3 separate regions of the Homo sapiens genome follow, and all the other regions are linked to region 1. The links are contacts of gene promoters, found by promoter capture Hi-C in blood cells and fetal thymus (Javierre and others, 2016). All regions are on one chromosome and are shown on one strand. The core of a region is centred on a gene start or on the middle of the fragment in contact, and the rest is flanking DNA. Distances in the headings are between cores, read along the strand shown.

The links. Contacts are between HindIII fragments. The CHiCAGO score rates a contact against its expected background, and 5 or more counts as called.
Region 2: a contact is called between a fragment that was not itself captured here and the fragment with the promoter of CYBB in region 1, in 2 of 17 cell types (naive B cells and total B cells). The highest score is 10.4, in naive B cells.
Region 3: a fragment that was not itself captured here is called in contact with the fragment with the promoter of CYBB in region 1 in 2 of 17 cell types (total B cells and naive B cells); the score reaches 7.7 in total B cells.

Annotation. Positions count from the first base shown.
Region 1 is chrX:37,778,320-37,782,814 of GRCh38, reverse strand. It overlaps CYBB (cytochrome b-245 beta chain), which reads right to left and starts at 2,756. Exons shown (of 13, transcript NM_000397.4): 1 at 2,693-2,756; 2 at 632-727. The coding sequence starts at 2,737. RefSeq lists an enhancer at 2,665-2,714. The HindIII fragment of the contact is 266 bases long and covers 2,621-2,886 here.
Region 2 is chrX:37,811,116-37,815,327 of GRCh38, reverse strand. CYBB (cytochrome b-245 beta chain) reads right to left here. Exons shown (of 13, transcript NM_000397.4): 13 at 1,867-4,212. Among named protein-coding and RNA genes, the nearest start is that of CYBB, 33 kb to the right of the region's middle. RefSeq lists an enhancer at 1,389-1,588. The HindIII fragment of the contact is 5,265 bases long and covers 1-4,212 here.
Region 3 is chrX:37,827,089-37,831,542 of GRCh38, reverse strand. No RefSeq gene overlaps it. Among named protein-coding and RNA genes, the nearest start is that of DYNLT3, 18 kb to the left of the region's middle. The HindIII fragment of the contact is 4,104 bases long and covers 1-3,731 here.

The DNA of each region.
Region 1 (4,495 bases), core at 1,507-4,006:
ATAATTAATATTAAGCAATTAATTCATAGTTTCAGCATGATGTAACAGATGTCTTCTGGAGGCAAGAGGCCTGACAGTTCAAGGAAACTCAGAATACTAAAGGACCCAAGGAAACTGAAGGGCCTTCACTCTACTGTCCTAGTCAACAGATGTGGCCCTTGAGCAAGTTCCTCGAGTCTTTATATGTAGAGAGAGATTTATTTTCTGAAGATCATTTCATAACATGTGATTAGGAGCAGAGCTCTTCATGCAAAAAAGTACTAGGAATTAGGTGACTTAGAAAATATGGAAAGTCCCACTTGTCCCACATGTGTCACTCCTGGATGGATTGCTCCAACCTGCCCTTCCATTTCAGAGTGAGTATTAGATTTCTCCTTTAAGCTAAACAATGGCACATGGTTCTTGGTTGGGGAAGGATGCCACTGGGGCCCTCTGCCCCACTTTTGTTGGTCCCAGACTGGAAGGCTTTAAGTGACTGTTGCCCAGGAAGTTGCAATGGAGGGAGTGAGGCTAATGGTACTGTTTGGGTTGGTCAGAATATGTATTTAAAATGCTAACAGGAAGATGAACAAGAATGTCTGATGAGAAATGTGAACCAGCCAATATTGCATGGGATGGAATTTATACTTACCCCAAGAAGTTTTCTTGTGTAAAAGAACTTAGGTGGAATATCATAAACCCGGTAATACCAGACAAAGAGGAAGACGTTCAACCCCAGCCAAACCAGCTGCACAAACAGAAATAATTGCATGAAGTTTCCGCATTTCCACAGTAGATTCCACACAAGACTGGAGTCAGATAAGGGTCAGGACTTCCCCAAGTCCAACTTTGACAAAGGTAGTGACAAAGCTGGATATAACCAGCTTAGAGCCAGCTCTTTCCTCAACAGTGTCACTACACTTGTCTATAATTAAAACCTCTCCACCCTGTGTTGTTCCCCATGATTGTTTTATGATTTGGCCAGTATACCAAATTATCAGTCTTACATTACCCCACTCCCTTTTTTTCCCCTCTCTTTTGCTTAACCTTGGATAGGTAGCTGATAGCAGGCCACTCCACTTAAAATGAGAAAGGAAGGGAACATATTACTATTGCTTTCCCTCCACCAGTATGACACTGCGTTCTGTTCTCACAGGTGCTAATCACCTCCCTCTACCACACAGTAATCCAGCTAGTGAATTCTCATCAGCTAAAATGCCAAGCCTTCCATTTTCCTTGATTAGTTTTACTTAATGCTTCAAGGAGAGAATATTGAGCATAGTGAGGGGCTTGGGATTTACAACAAAAACAGCTTTCTAGATCATGACAGTTCATTTTATCCTAAGCACTGACTGGATCAAGTGGTCACACTACCCAGTTCTCTACCTTCAGCTCCATAGTGATCTTTTCTCAACTATGCTTTGAAGCTATTATATGCTCTAGACACTTGATAATATTCTCTCTTTACAAAGAAAAAAGTGCTAAAGCAACTTCCCAATTTCCTGATCTTGTCATTCTTTCTTTACTCTGACTTTCCAAGCTGTGTTTTCACTTTCAAGTGCATGAGTATATAATTTAGAAGGAGGTCATTTCCTGGGAAAAATTGTGGCGAGAGCTAAAAGTTTAATTTGAACTTACTTTCTATAGAAATTATTTGCCCTTAAAAATGGTGATAAGAAGTTAAGTTTACAGCTTCGAATACTCGGAAGAATTCTCTGTTGCAGTAGAATGTTGGTTTGGCGTAAACATTTTTTATAACAAAATATTTGTTGTTTTTATTTGTGCCACTAATTGCTTTCTATATTTAAAACTCAAAGACTCATTATTTTTCATGATAAATTTTTACAAAAGCTCCATTCATATTCCATTCATAATTGTACTTTTTAACATCTGTGTAATGCTTCTATTGGTTATTTAGAAAGGCTATTTAAAAATCGTATTTCTATCTACCCAATTTGTCCATTATTGCTTTGCTGATAACACCATTTTAAGAGAACAGTTGATTTTCTTTGTTTTAAAAAGTACAGAAATCATTCTGTCCACTTGTAAATTAGCTATATCTTTACTTACATAGTTTCTCCAGACTATATTGATTTATATATATATACAATTATATATAAATATACATACTACATATTTATGAATCTAGATGACTTATTTCAATTCTGTTCTTTTGAATTTTTATAAATCTTATAAATAACTCAAGTTTAGATCTCTGAAAAAAGAAGGTACTTGTTTTTGAAAATAAATTTGAGAAGTTTTATTATATTTAGTGTAATTACTGAAATAAAGGCCTACTTCCCATACATGAGTCAATCTTATATTTTTTATTTAGAAAATGGTATAAAATTTCAATTTGTCATTTTTAAAGTAGTATAAACACATAGACATGTGCGTCTGAGTAAACATTACTAAACAACTCAGAATCAGAGATCATTAGCATGAAATATTTTCTACTCCTTCTGCGAAATGCTGGCTAATTTATTCCTCCTAGGAATTCAGAAGTAAGCTAGAAGTGAGCCCCCAGATATGTTCTTTCCATTAAGGAATTTGGAAGAATGGACTCAGTCTGTTTACAGATAGATATAGGTTCACATGGTAAATCAGTTTCAACACAATTCCTCAAATGAACAAAAAAGCTTTGGTCTATTTTAGTTCCAAGATAACCCCGAGAAGTCAGAGAATTTATAACTTATCTCTTGTTGGTACTTACAATGACAAAAATGGAGAGCCCCTCATTCACAGCCCAGTTCCCCATGGTGGCAGAGGTTGAATGTGTTGTGTTTGCCTTTCTTCTATACTATGCTTCTTCTTCCAATGAGGAAATGAAAACAGCAGCCCTGGGGCAATCGGTTTCCTTTTCTTTTATCAGAAATTGGCTAATAATCATTGGTCAACTGAAAAGCTTGCATCCATAACAAACTTAAATCTTTAAACCTCAACAACTACAAAAAAAGGGTCTATAATGATCCAGTCACAATTAAACATAGTGGAAAATGAAACCAATTTCTACAACTAAGAGATAAATAACAGTGCATTTTAAGGGATGTATTTTACACAGTGAAATAACTTTTTAACTAACCAGCTATTTGATCACAATTTTTAAGCCACTCAACTAGACATGACTTCGTGCTGGGTAAAACACATTAAACAGGTGTGATTTTGACAGGCTGGAACAGCATTCATAGCCTTGCTGAGAAAAGTAGTAACAATTGTAATGGTTGATATTTACAAAATGCTTAATATGTGCCAATTTTATGTGCTATATATGTCTATATATGTGTGTGTGTATGTTCATGTATAGCTATCATATATATATATATATATATATATATATATATATATATAATTTGAAACATACATATATAAATACAGATGCTTTGGCCAATGATGAACCACATGTATGACAGTGGTCCCATAAGATTATAATGGTGTTGGCCAGGCACGGTGGCTCACGCCTGTAATCCCAGCACTTTGAGAGGCTGAGTGGGGTGGATCACTTGAGGTCAGGAGTTTGGGACCAATCTGGCCAACATGGTGAAACCCCGTCTCTACTAAAAATACAAAAATTAGCTGGGCATGGTGGTGGGCACCTGTAGTCCCAGCTACTCAGGAGGCTGAGGCAGGAGAATCACTTGAACCTGGGAGTCAGGTTGCAGTGAGCCGAGATTGTGTCATTGCACCCCAGCCTGGGCGACAGAGCAAGACTCCATCTCTCTCTCTCTCTCTCTCTCTCTCTCTCTCTATATATATATATATATATATACATATATATATAATATATAATATAATATATAATATATATACTTGTGTGTGTGTGCTGAAAAATTCCTACCATCTAGTGACATTGTAGCATAACACATTACTCATGTGTTTGTGGCAATGCTGGTGTAAACAAACCTACTGAGCTGCCAGTTGTAAAAGTATAGCACATACAATTATGTACATTACATAGTACTTGATAGTAAAAATAGATGACTATGTTACTGGTTCATTTATTTACTAGACTATACTTTTAATCATTATTTTAGAGTATACTCCTACTTATAAAAAAGTTAACTGTAAAAGAATCTCAGGCAGGTCCTTCAGAAGGTATTCCAGAAGAATGCATTGCTGTCATAGATGACAGCTTCATGCATGTTAGTGCCCTTGAAGACTGTCCAGTGGGGCAAAATGTGGAGGTGGAAGACAGTGATATTAATGATCCTGACTTTGTGTGGGCCTAGGCTAATGTGTATGTTTGTGTCTTAGCTTTTAACAAAAATGTTTTAAAGGTAAAATATAAAAATAAAAAATTTAAAAACAGAATAAAGCTTCTAGATATGGATATTAAAACATTTTTGTACAGCTGTAAAATTTTTTTTGTTTTAAGCTTAGGGTTATTACAAAAGAGTCAAGAAATTAAAAAAGCAAAAGTTTATAAATAAAAAGTTACAGTAAGCTAAATTTATTTCATTATTGAAAAAACAAAATGTTTTGCATATTTAGTATAGCCTAAGTGTACAGTGTTCATAAA
Region 2 (4,212 bases), core at 691-3,190, 33 kb before region 1:
AAATAAGCTCACAGTGGCCTCTGCTCATGTACAACATTTCCTAGTATTTTTTAAATCCAAGAAGAAGTGTATTTCAGGATTTAGTTTCTTCTTATAATTTATAGCATCCCACTTCCTTGAAAATTATGAATCTATTAGCAATAAGTATTAACTGGAATATCCAATTACTTAGACTACCTCATTCCCCAACCACTACAACAAGATAATAAAGGCTACAAGTTTAAATGAATCTCAGGCCACTTGGTTGATCATTTTTCCAGGTTTTAAAAATCTCTAGTGGTCAGATTTCCTAGCCTCTGTCAACACTTTGTTTTTTGCCCAACTGAATTTATGGTTGAGAAATTTAGCTCCTTCCTCATGCAATCTTATTACACACAGACACACACACACACACACACACACACACACACACACACAAAACTATAGACAACAGCTGGCCATTCTCTGAAAGACAGAAATTGTTTATAAATAAAATAAATATAAATGAAAAAGTAGACTTAATAAATATTATTGAGTCACCCTACAGCCTTCTTTTCTCCAAGCAAAATAATTCCATTTTTTGATAGGTTCTATTTTATCATAATTTAAAAGTAAAAATGAGCATGAATCAGATTAACCAGTGTTTCTAAACTAAGATACCAAGCTACTTAAATGGTATAAACTAGAGATTTATGTTACCACTGTTACCCAGCTATTCTTGGTACATAATTTGTACCTAGCATAATTGCTTTGAAAATATCCTTAGTTTTTGGCCGGGTGCGGTGACTCATGCCTGTAATCGCAGCACTTTGGGAGGCTGAGGCCGGTGGATCACCTGAGGTTGGGAGTTTGAGACCAGCCTGACCAACATGGAGAAACCCCGTCTCTACTAAAAATACAAAATTAGCCAGGCGCGGTAGCGCATGCCTGTAATCCCAACTACTCAGGAGGCTGAGGCAGGATAATCGCTTGAACCCGGGTGGCAGAGGTTGCGGTGAGCTGAGGTCGTGCCATTGCACTCCAGCCTGGGCAACAAGAGCAAAACTCCGTCTCAAACAAAAAGGAGAGAGAGAGAGAGAGAAAGAAAATATCCTTAATTTTTTATACCTAGTGTAATCTGCTAGTGTAGTATAAAGGACATGGAGTTTGTCCCCAGAAAGATGTGGATTGAATGTTGACATAGTCACCCAATAGTTATGGGTACTTTTCCTTCTCATTCATCTTCGTTCAGACTGTTTTCTTATCAACAAAATTAGGATAAAACGGCTACCTTGTAGTGTTGCTGAGGGATTAAATAAAGTGTATGTAAAATGTTCGGCATAGTAGGAGGTGTTTACCAAATGTTGGCTATTTCTATTACTGCCATTTATTTTAGGTAATGTCCTTTCCCTCCATGGCAGCACCTGTTGACTCCCACAGGAACATGTCATGCCCACACCCCTATGCATTTCCTAAATAGTGGAGATCGTAACCGGTTGACTCATTTAGAACAAGGGCTATCACAGAAGCATGAGCATATATGCCCACAATTGCTCACAATTGCCCACAATTGCCCATATTGCCCACAATTGATGATACTCAATTGTGAAGTTAGAACATGAAAGTTCAGTAGACGTGGAACAAAGATGTCACACTGGGGCTTCTTCGTTTCTGAAATTCTGTCTATGACATTAAGTTGCCCTCCCTGTCCCTTATATTAGTGTTGTGAGGATCAACAGTATTCAGCACAGAACTTAGTCTTCAGCTTTCACTTCCCAATCCATAAACCATGAAGTGTTTGGCATATCATATACAGAAACACAGAGTGTCTCAACCCCACCGGGGTAGAGAAAATTGTTACTAGCTGAATTTACCCTTTAATACAAAGATCAGTAACACAGACACAAAGAAAGCTCATTCATTTTAATAGTTGAGCACAGTTTTAAGAATTCCCCGTAGGAATTATCTCCCAGGTCCCCCGCTAGAATTATTCACATACAAAGCCTGCAAGTATTCAAATTTCACAAACACAATTGCAAAAGCAGAAGAACTAAGAAAAACCTTCATAGTCTTAAGATTAAAAACAATGCTTCATCATTCTTAGAGTACCTGTTAATAAATGCTAAATACTAAGTGCTAAAAAAAAAAAAAAAAAAAAAAAGCTAGGCTGGCAGCTGGCTGCTGGTGGCTGGCAGCTGGTGGCTTGAGAGAATAAAAAAGGAAACTTTTATAATGACAAGCACTCTTATATTCATTTTTTATCTCATAACTGGATAACACAGGGCAGATCTCTCTACTTTCATAACTTAGTTGGTTTTGAAGATAGAAAACCTTGGAGAAACACTCTCGGAGCAACAAATGAAGCTGGTTTTAATTATGCACATAGGTTAGAAAGGGCCAATATTCTCAGACTCCTTATAACTGAGGTACCCTCTCCAGTTCATACTTTGGTGTAAAGAATTGAAACAATAAACAGAGCCTGACTCATAGTAATAACACAATAAATATCTGTTGAATAGATGAATTGATACCTGAGGTGCAGTGTGAACAGGCTGGACCTAAGTGTCTCTAAGCAGAAACCATCCTGGTACATTTCAGAAAGGCTATATTCGCACAGCAGGCCTTATTTGTCAGACCTACCCTCAGTGCCCTGAGGATTCTGGGAGACGAAAGGAATAGTAGTATGACAAAGAACAACTGAGTTCTTATTTAGTTCATCCTAGTCCCTTGAATAATCCCCCTCAGCATCAAAATTTGTGACCAGATTTTAAAAGATTCAATACCATAGATAATCAAAACAACATCAATATGTGTATACCTCCTTCAATTATATTCTATACATATCAAACTTTAAGAAATCTGGGGCAGGGAATGACCAATATGAGACCCCCTTCCCCTCTCTCTCCCTTTTGCCTTTTTTATTTTCTCTCACTCTCCCATTCTCTTTTCTCCTTATTTCCTTTTCCTCCTAAACCAGTCTTCTGCCCTTCCCCCAGCTCTTTCTCCTTCTTCCTCATTACCGAAGTTGAAGAGTTCTAAACATTTGTGGCTCCAAGGGGTGGGGCAAATAAAACTGGTTTTAGTTCCCAGAAATGGGAGCAGTTCTAAGAACAAAAAGAAAACCCTGCTCTTGGCCACACTAACAGTGATTTAGAGACTCTCTCTTGAACATATATTCAGAACATACTATTGAGTGTGAATTTGATCTCTGTATAGAGATTTTTGTTTCTGGGTTGTTAATTTTAGGATGATGATGATGATATAATACAAATAAACCATTAGTCACACAGATGCGATCCATTTTGTGTGTGTATTTACGGAAAATAAGGGGTGGGTGTTATTTAAAACAAATGACCATATCAGATACATATTTGTCACAATTCCTAAGTTCAATATTCATAAGGGCTAGCTGGAGAAGACCACTTTGGGCAGGAAATTAGTCTGCATTTATTTTATAGCACAAGGAGCAGGACTAGATGAGCCAGAGTCATGGCAGGAGGTTAATTCTCCACCTCCAACCCTCTTTTTTCATGCTTCAAATAAGAATGTGCAGAACCCTTCAGGCAATCCTATTGGTTAGTATCCTTAGCCTGTTCTTGACCCTAGGGAGAATCAGATTCCTTTGGTCTATGACAGTAATAGAAGTTATTTCTTTAGATAAATTTTGTTTAAGGCTTTAAATTAATTCTATCTTGGCATTGTGTGGTTCTAAATTCATTCATTCATTTAACAAAACTTACTTGAGTATCCGCTCTCTGCCAAGCACAGTGGTAAATGATGAGTATTACATTAACTCCAATCAATCCAATATTCTTCTGTAGAAAGAACATCTGGCCCAGTTACCCTGCTGTATTAGTAAACTGGAGTATGCTCAGATGTCAATACTGTCACTAATAAGTGTTGAGACACTCTCAACATGTATTATGTCCTAATGATCTGGAAAATTTCCTTCAGTATGATAATAATGATGGCAAAAATGACACAAAGTAGAAATATATAGCTACTCCTTGGTTTCCTTCTTCTTTTGGGGAATATAAAAACTGATTTTGAGGATTCTGAGGCAGCTCAGTATTGTGGAAAGAGTATCAAACCTGGAGTAAGATGGGCTAGATCTGGTCACAGTTTCATAATCTTAGGGAAGTTACTGAACCTTTTGATCCTTTCCCTTTTGATTCTAAAATTGAGTCCAAGAATCTTTTCCCTAACTTCCACTGACATTACTGAGAGGAAAAAAATGAAATAATGTTTGTAAAA
Region 3 (4,454 bases), core at 430-2,929, 50 kb before region 1:
CACTTATGAGTGAGAACATGCGGTGTTTGGCCTCAGCCTCCCAAGTAGCTGTGATTATAGGCACCTGCCACCATGCCCTGCTAATTTTTGTATTTTTAGTAGAGACAAGGTTTCACCATGTTGGCCAGGCTGGTCTTGAACTTCTGACCTCAGGTGATCCGCCTGCCTTGGCCTCCTAAAGTGCTGGGATTACAGGCGTGAGCCACCACACCTGGCCACCATTATTACTATTATTATTATTATTATTATTATTATTTGAGATGGAGTCTCGCTCTGTTGCCCAGGCTGGAGTACAGTGGCACGATCTCAGCTCACTGCAACCTCTGCCTCCTAGGTTCAAGCAATAATTCTCCTGCCTCAGCCTCCTGAGTAGTGGGGATTACAGGCACGCACCACCACGCTGGGCTATTTTTTGTATTTTTAGTAGAGACAGTGTTTCACCACGTTGGCCAGGCTGGTCTCTAACTCCTGACCTCAAGTGATCTGCCCCACTCAGTCCCCCAAAGTGCTGGGATTACAGGTGTGAGTCATCAGGCCTGGCCAGATGGAGGCTTCTAAATGGCCTTCTGACTCCACCTCAAACTCTATATATGCTGTATCTAAAAGGGCTTCCTGCACAAGCAATTTTTTTTTTTTTACTTTATAAATAACTGTACTTCCTAATAGCATCACCAATTTGCTTTCCAAAGCAAACACTGTTGACATTTCAGTTCTTTTTTTTTAGTTTATTATTTTTATTATTAAACACTTCCATGTTTCTATCATAGTTCTTATGATTTGTTTCATAATGGCACTTTAAGTTATACTCTGTCAACAGACATCTTTTGCATGTTAAATATGCAGTAATGGAATTCACTTGCTGTATAGTTAGAATGCTTTTAATTAACTTATTTGGAAGTCCAGAAATAAAACATATTTCAGGTTGACTTAATCCTGTGGCCTAAGGTCTGTTTCTCTGTGATTGCTTCATTTGTGTCCCACTGTTTGTTGACTTTATCCTTAGCCTAGCCTACTCTGTTAGTTGACTTTATCCTTAGCCTGATTTTCATCATTGTGCAAAAATGGCTAAAGCAGATCCAGGCTTCCCATTCGTATACCATATTGAATAGAGGAAGAAAGAAAATATATTTGAATAGTTAAAAATAAGAAAATTTCTTTCCCTTAAACCTCTGCTAAGCATTCCTGTGGTGGATAGTGGCCTGCAATAAATCTCTTCTCCTGGTATTCATGCCCTTGTGTAGTCACTTTCTTCATTGACTCTGAACTTGGACATATGACTTGCTTTGGCCAATGAGACATATGATGAAAAAGCAAAAGTTTATTTACACATTGTATTTTTCTCTTTGTGTTCTTGCATCCTTGTCTCTTGGAATGCTCCTCCTTGGAATCTGTTAACCATACCGTAAAGAAGCTCAGGTTAGACTACTGAATGAAGAGAAGTCATCTGAAGATGGACTCCAAAGAATAAAAAGCCACCTTTGGAATTTCTACCTCCTGCCAAACTCCTAGCTAAATGCAGGCACATTAGTAACTCTGTTACACCATGTGGAGCAAAAGAATCTTCCAATTGACTTCTGCCAATCCATTACGTTTTGAGGTTGTTTGTAATACAGAAACAGGAAACAATTTCACAGACTTGCACTGGTAAAAATTAGGTCACTAGCTAGAAAGAATACAGGAAGAAAAAAAAACAAAATTAAGCCACATACCCAATATTGAGCCAATCTCTTAATCTGGAAATTCTATTCATTGACTTTCTTAAATTTGGGCTCCTGAATGATTCATTGTAGCAAGGATAGAATCACATTTAGACCAGAGAAGCATTAGTTTTCCCTAAAGTATATCAAAGATATGGGAGAGCATTAAATACTTAAACAAAAATCAGAGTACTTTTAATGAAAGGTAAGGGGAGTGTTGGATGCTGGCTAAACTATCAGCAATGTAGGCTGGGAGTGGTAGCTCATGCCTGTAATCCCAGCCCTTTGGGAGGCTGAGACTTGAGGATCACTTGGGGCCAGGAGCTCAAGACCAGTCTAGGCAACATAGTGAGACACGGTTTCTACAAAAATTTTAAAAGTTAGCTGGCTGTGGTGGTGTGCACCTGTAGTCCTAACTACTAGGTAGGCTGAAGCAGTAGGATTTCTTGAGTCAGGAGTTTGAAGTTAGAGTGAATGACACTACTGCACTGCAACCTGGGTGACAGAGTGACACACTGTCTCTTAAAAACAAAACAAAACAAAGAAATACTCTCTCACATTATTACTGAAATGTATAGCCATCTTGATCTAATTTGTTTTCCCTCTCGTGATAGGTGTACCAGTATAAGAAGTGTTTGACTTTCTCCTTAACTTTTGTATTGGTTTCCGATTGCCACTTAAACTTGGTGGTCTAAAACAACACAAATTTATTCACTTACAGTTCTGGAAGCCAGAAGTTCAAAATGGTCTTACTGATCTAAAATCAAGGTATAAGCAGAGATGTGTCCTTTCTGGAGCTTCTAGGAGAGAATCCTTTTTCTTGCCTTTTCTACTTTCTAGAGGCTACTTAAATTCCTTGGCTAGTGATTCCTTCTAGCACCCTCAAAGGTAGCAGTGTAGTATCTTCAAATCCCGTTCCTTTCTGACCTCTGCTTCCATCATTTCTGACTCTGAGCCTCTTGTTTTCATATTTCCCTTATTAGGAACCTCGTGATTATATTGGGCCCACCCCAGATATTGTCCCTATACTTAATCACACCTGCAAAATCCCTTTTGCCATGAACATATTGACAGGTTCTGAGGATTAGAATGTGGACATCTTTGTGATGGTGGGGGGTGTATTACTCTGTCTACTACAATTTTATTATCACATGAGGCTCAATGTCAGTGGTCTCTCATTCTAGGTATCAGATAATAGGGAATAGTAAGGACTGTGATAAGTTGGATAGCACACAATTTAGAAACAAGGGCTCAGGGTTAATCTTCCAGTTTTTTCAAAAAATCCAGAAATATCAATTATGATGCACAATCTCTCAATTTCAAAATTTCCATATTTTAGAACATGGTGTTTGGGTTTAAGGAGGTCCAATCAATAGTACATCTCTTTCCTAGTTTAATTCTGAATCAATTGGGAGACAAAGATAAAGATAGCTTCAAATAAAAATATTACCTTTCTGTTCCAGAATGGAACTTATCTCAGGGCAGCTAGTCTTTCTAATGTTAAACTCCAGAATTTGAATTATTGCCCAGTTGAAGGCAGAAACGTGCTCTGCTGGTGAACCAGCTACAAAGAAAAAGGGAAAAAGGAGCCATTTTACCTCTCATGGAAGGAGTGAGGAAATAAAGAAATATCAGGGGTTTTATATGAATTGATAAATCTGTACATAGAGAACGACCTGAAAGAAAACATCACAAGTTGGGGATTAAGCACTGTTCCTTTAATGCTTACCACTGAGTCATATTTTTTTACACACTCTGTAGCCCAACATTATACAGGCCAAAAGAAACATGTCTGTGGGTCACATGTAGCCCATGGGTCATTAATTTGTCGGCGTTTCATAGCTCCTGCAGATTTAGTCTTCTAGTAGCCCCTCTCACTCTACCCCAGCTCCCTCTATTGATTGGGCCATCTGGTCAGACATTGCACTTTTTCCACCAATGGTCAACCGACAAAGGGAAGGAAATGAAGCCAGCTATCATCTGGACTTGAGGCCCCATCAGAACGTCTGGGTGCAACTGCTATTGTAGCAAGCTTGGTAATGTAAACTAGGGAGTTTACATGGACAGAACTAATGTTCTATGAATCATTAGCGTAGTCTTTCTAGAGGGCAATTTGGCAGCATCTGTCAAATTTTTAAGTGCTTATGTTCCATGACCAGAGTATTAGAGATCTATACTACAGAAATAATAACATGAGTGAGAAAAAGAAAAAAAGCAAAGAAGAATTTTCTTTGTAATAACAAATTTAAAAAATGAAAACAACTTTAAAGTGTCCACCAAAAGGGGAAGGGATAAATAAATTATGGAAAAGTAAAGATGAAATATCACTTTTTATTTTATGTATTATATGATTTGAAATAGTTAAACAATTACATATTAATTTTTAGTACTTAATTTAAATTACACAATACATGATATTGTTTTTCAGCCAAAACATCATGATATAACAAAAGCCTAAAATGCCCCTTGCCCTTCATCTTGTCTTCTCTTTGTCCCCCACCTTCCCATGTACTCCCATGAGGTAAAATATACTGTCATTTTGATGTATAAGATTCCAGGCTTTTCTGCACATTTACATGAATAAATGAATGTATTTTTTATTGTAAATAATATATATGATTCTGCAGACTGCTCTTTTTATGGAACAGTATGCCTTGGGGATTTTTTTTCATGTCAGTATATACAGACTCACCTTGTTGAGTTTAGCTGCCATACTGTATCTACAGTATGGATAGGACACAGTTTATTCATTTTCCT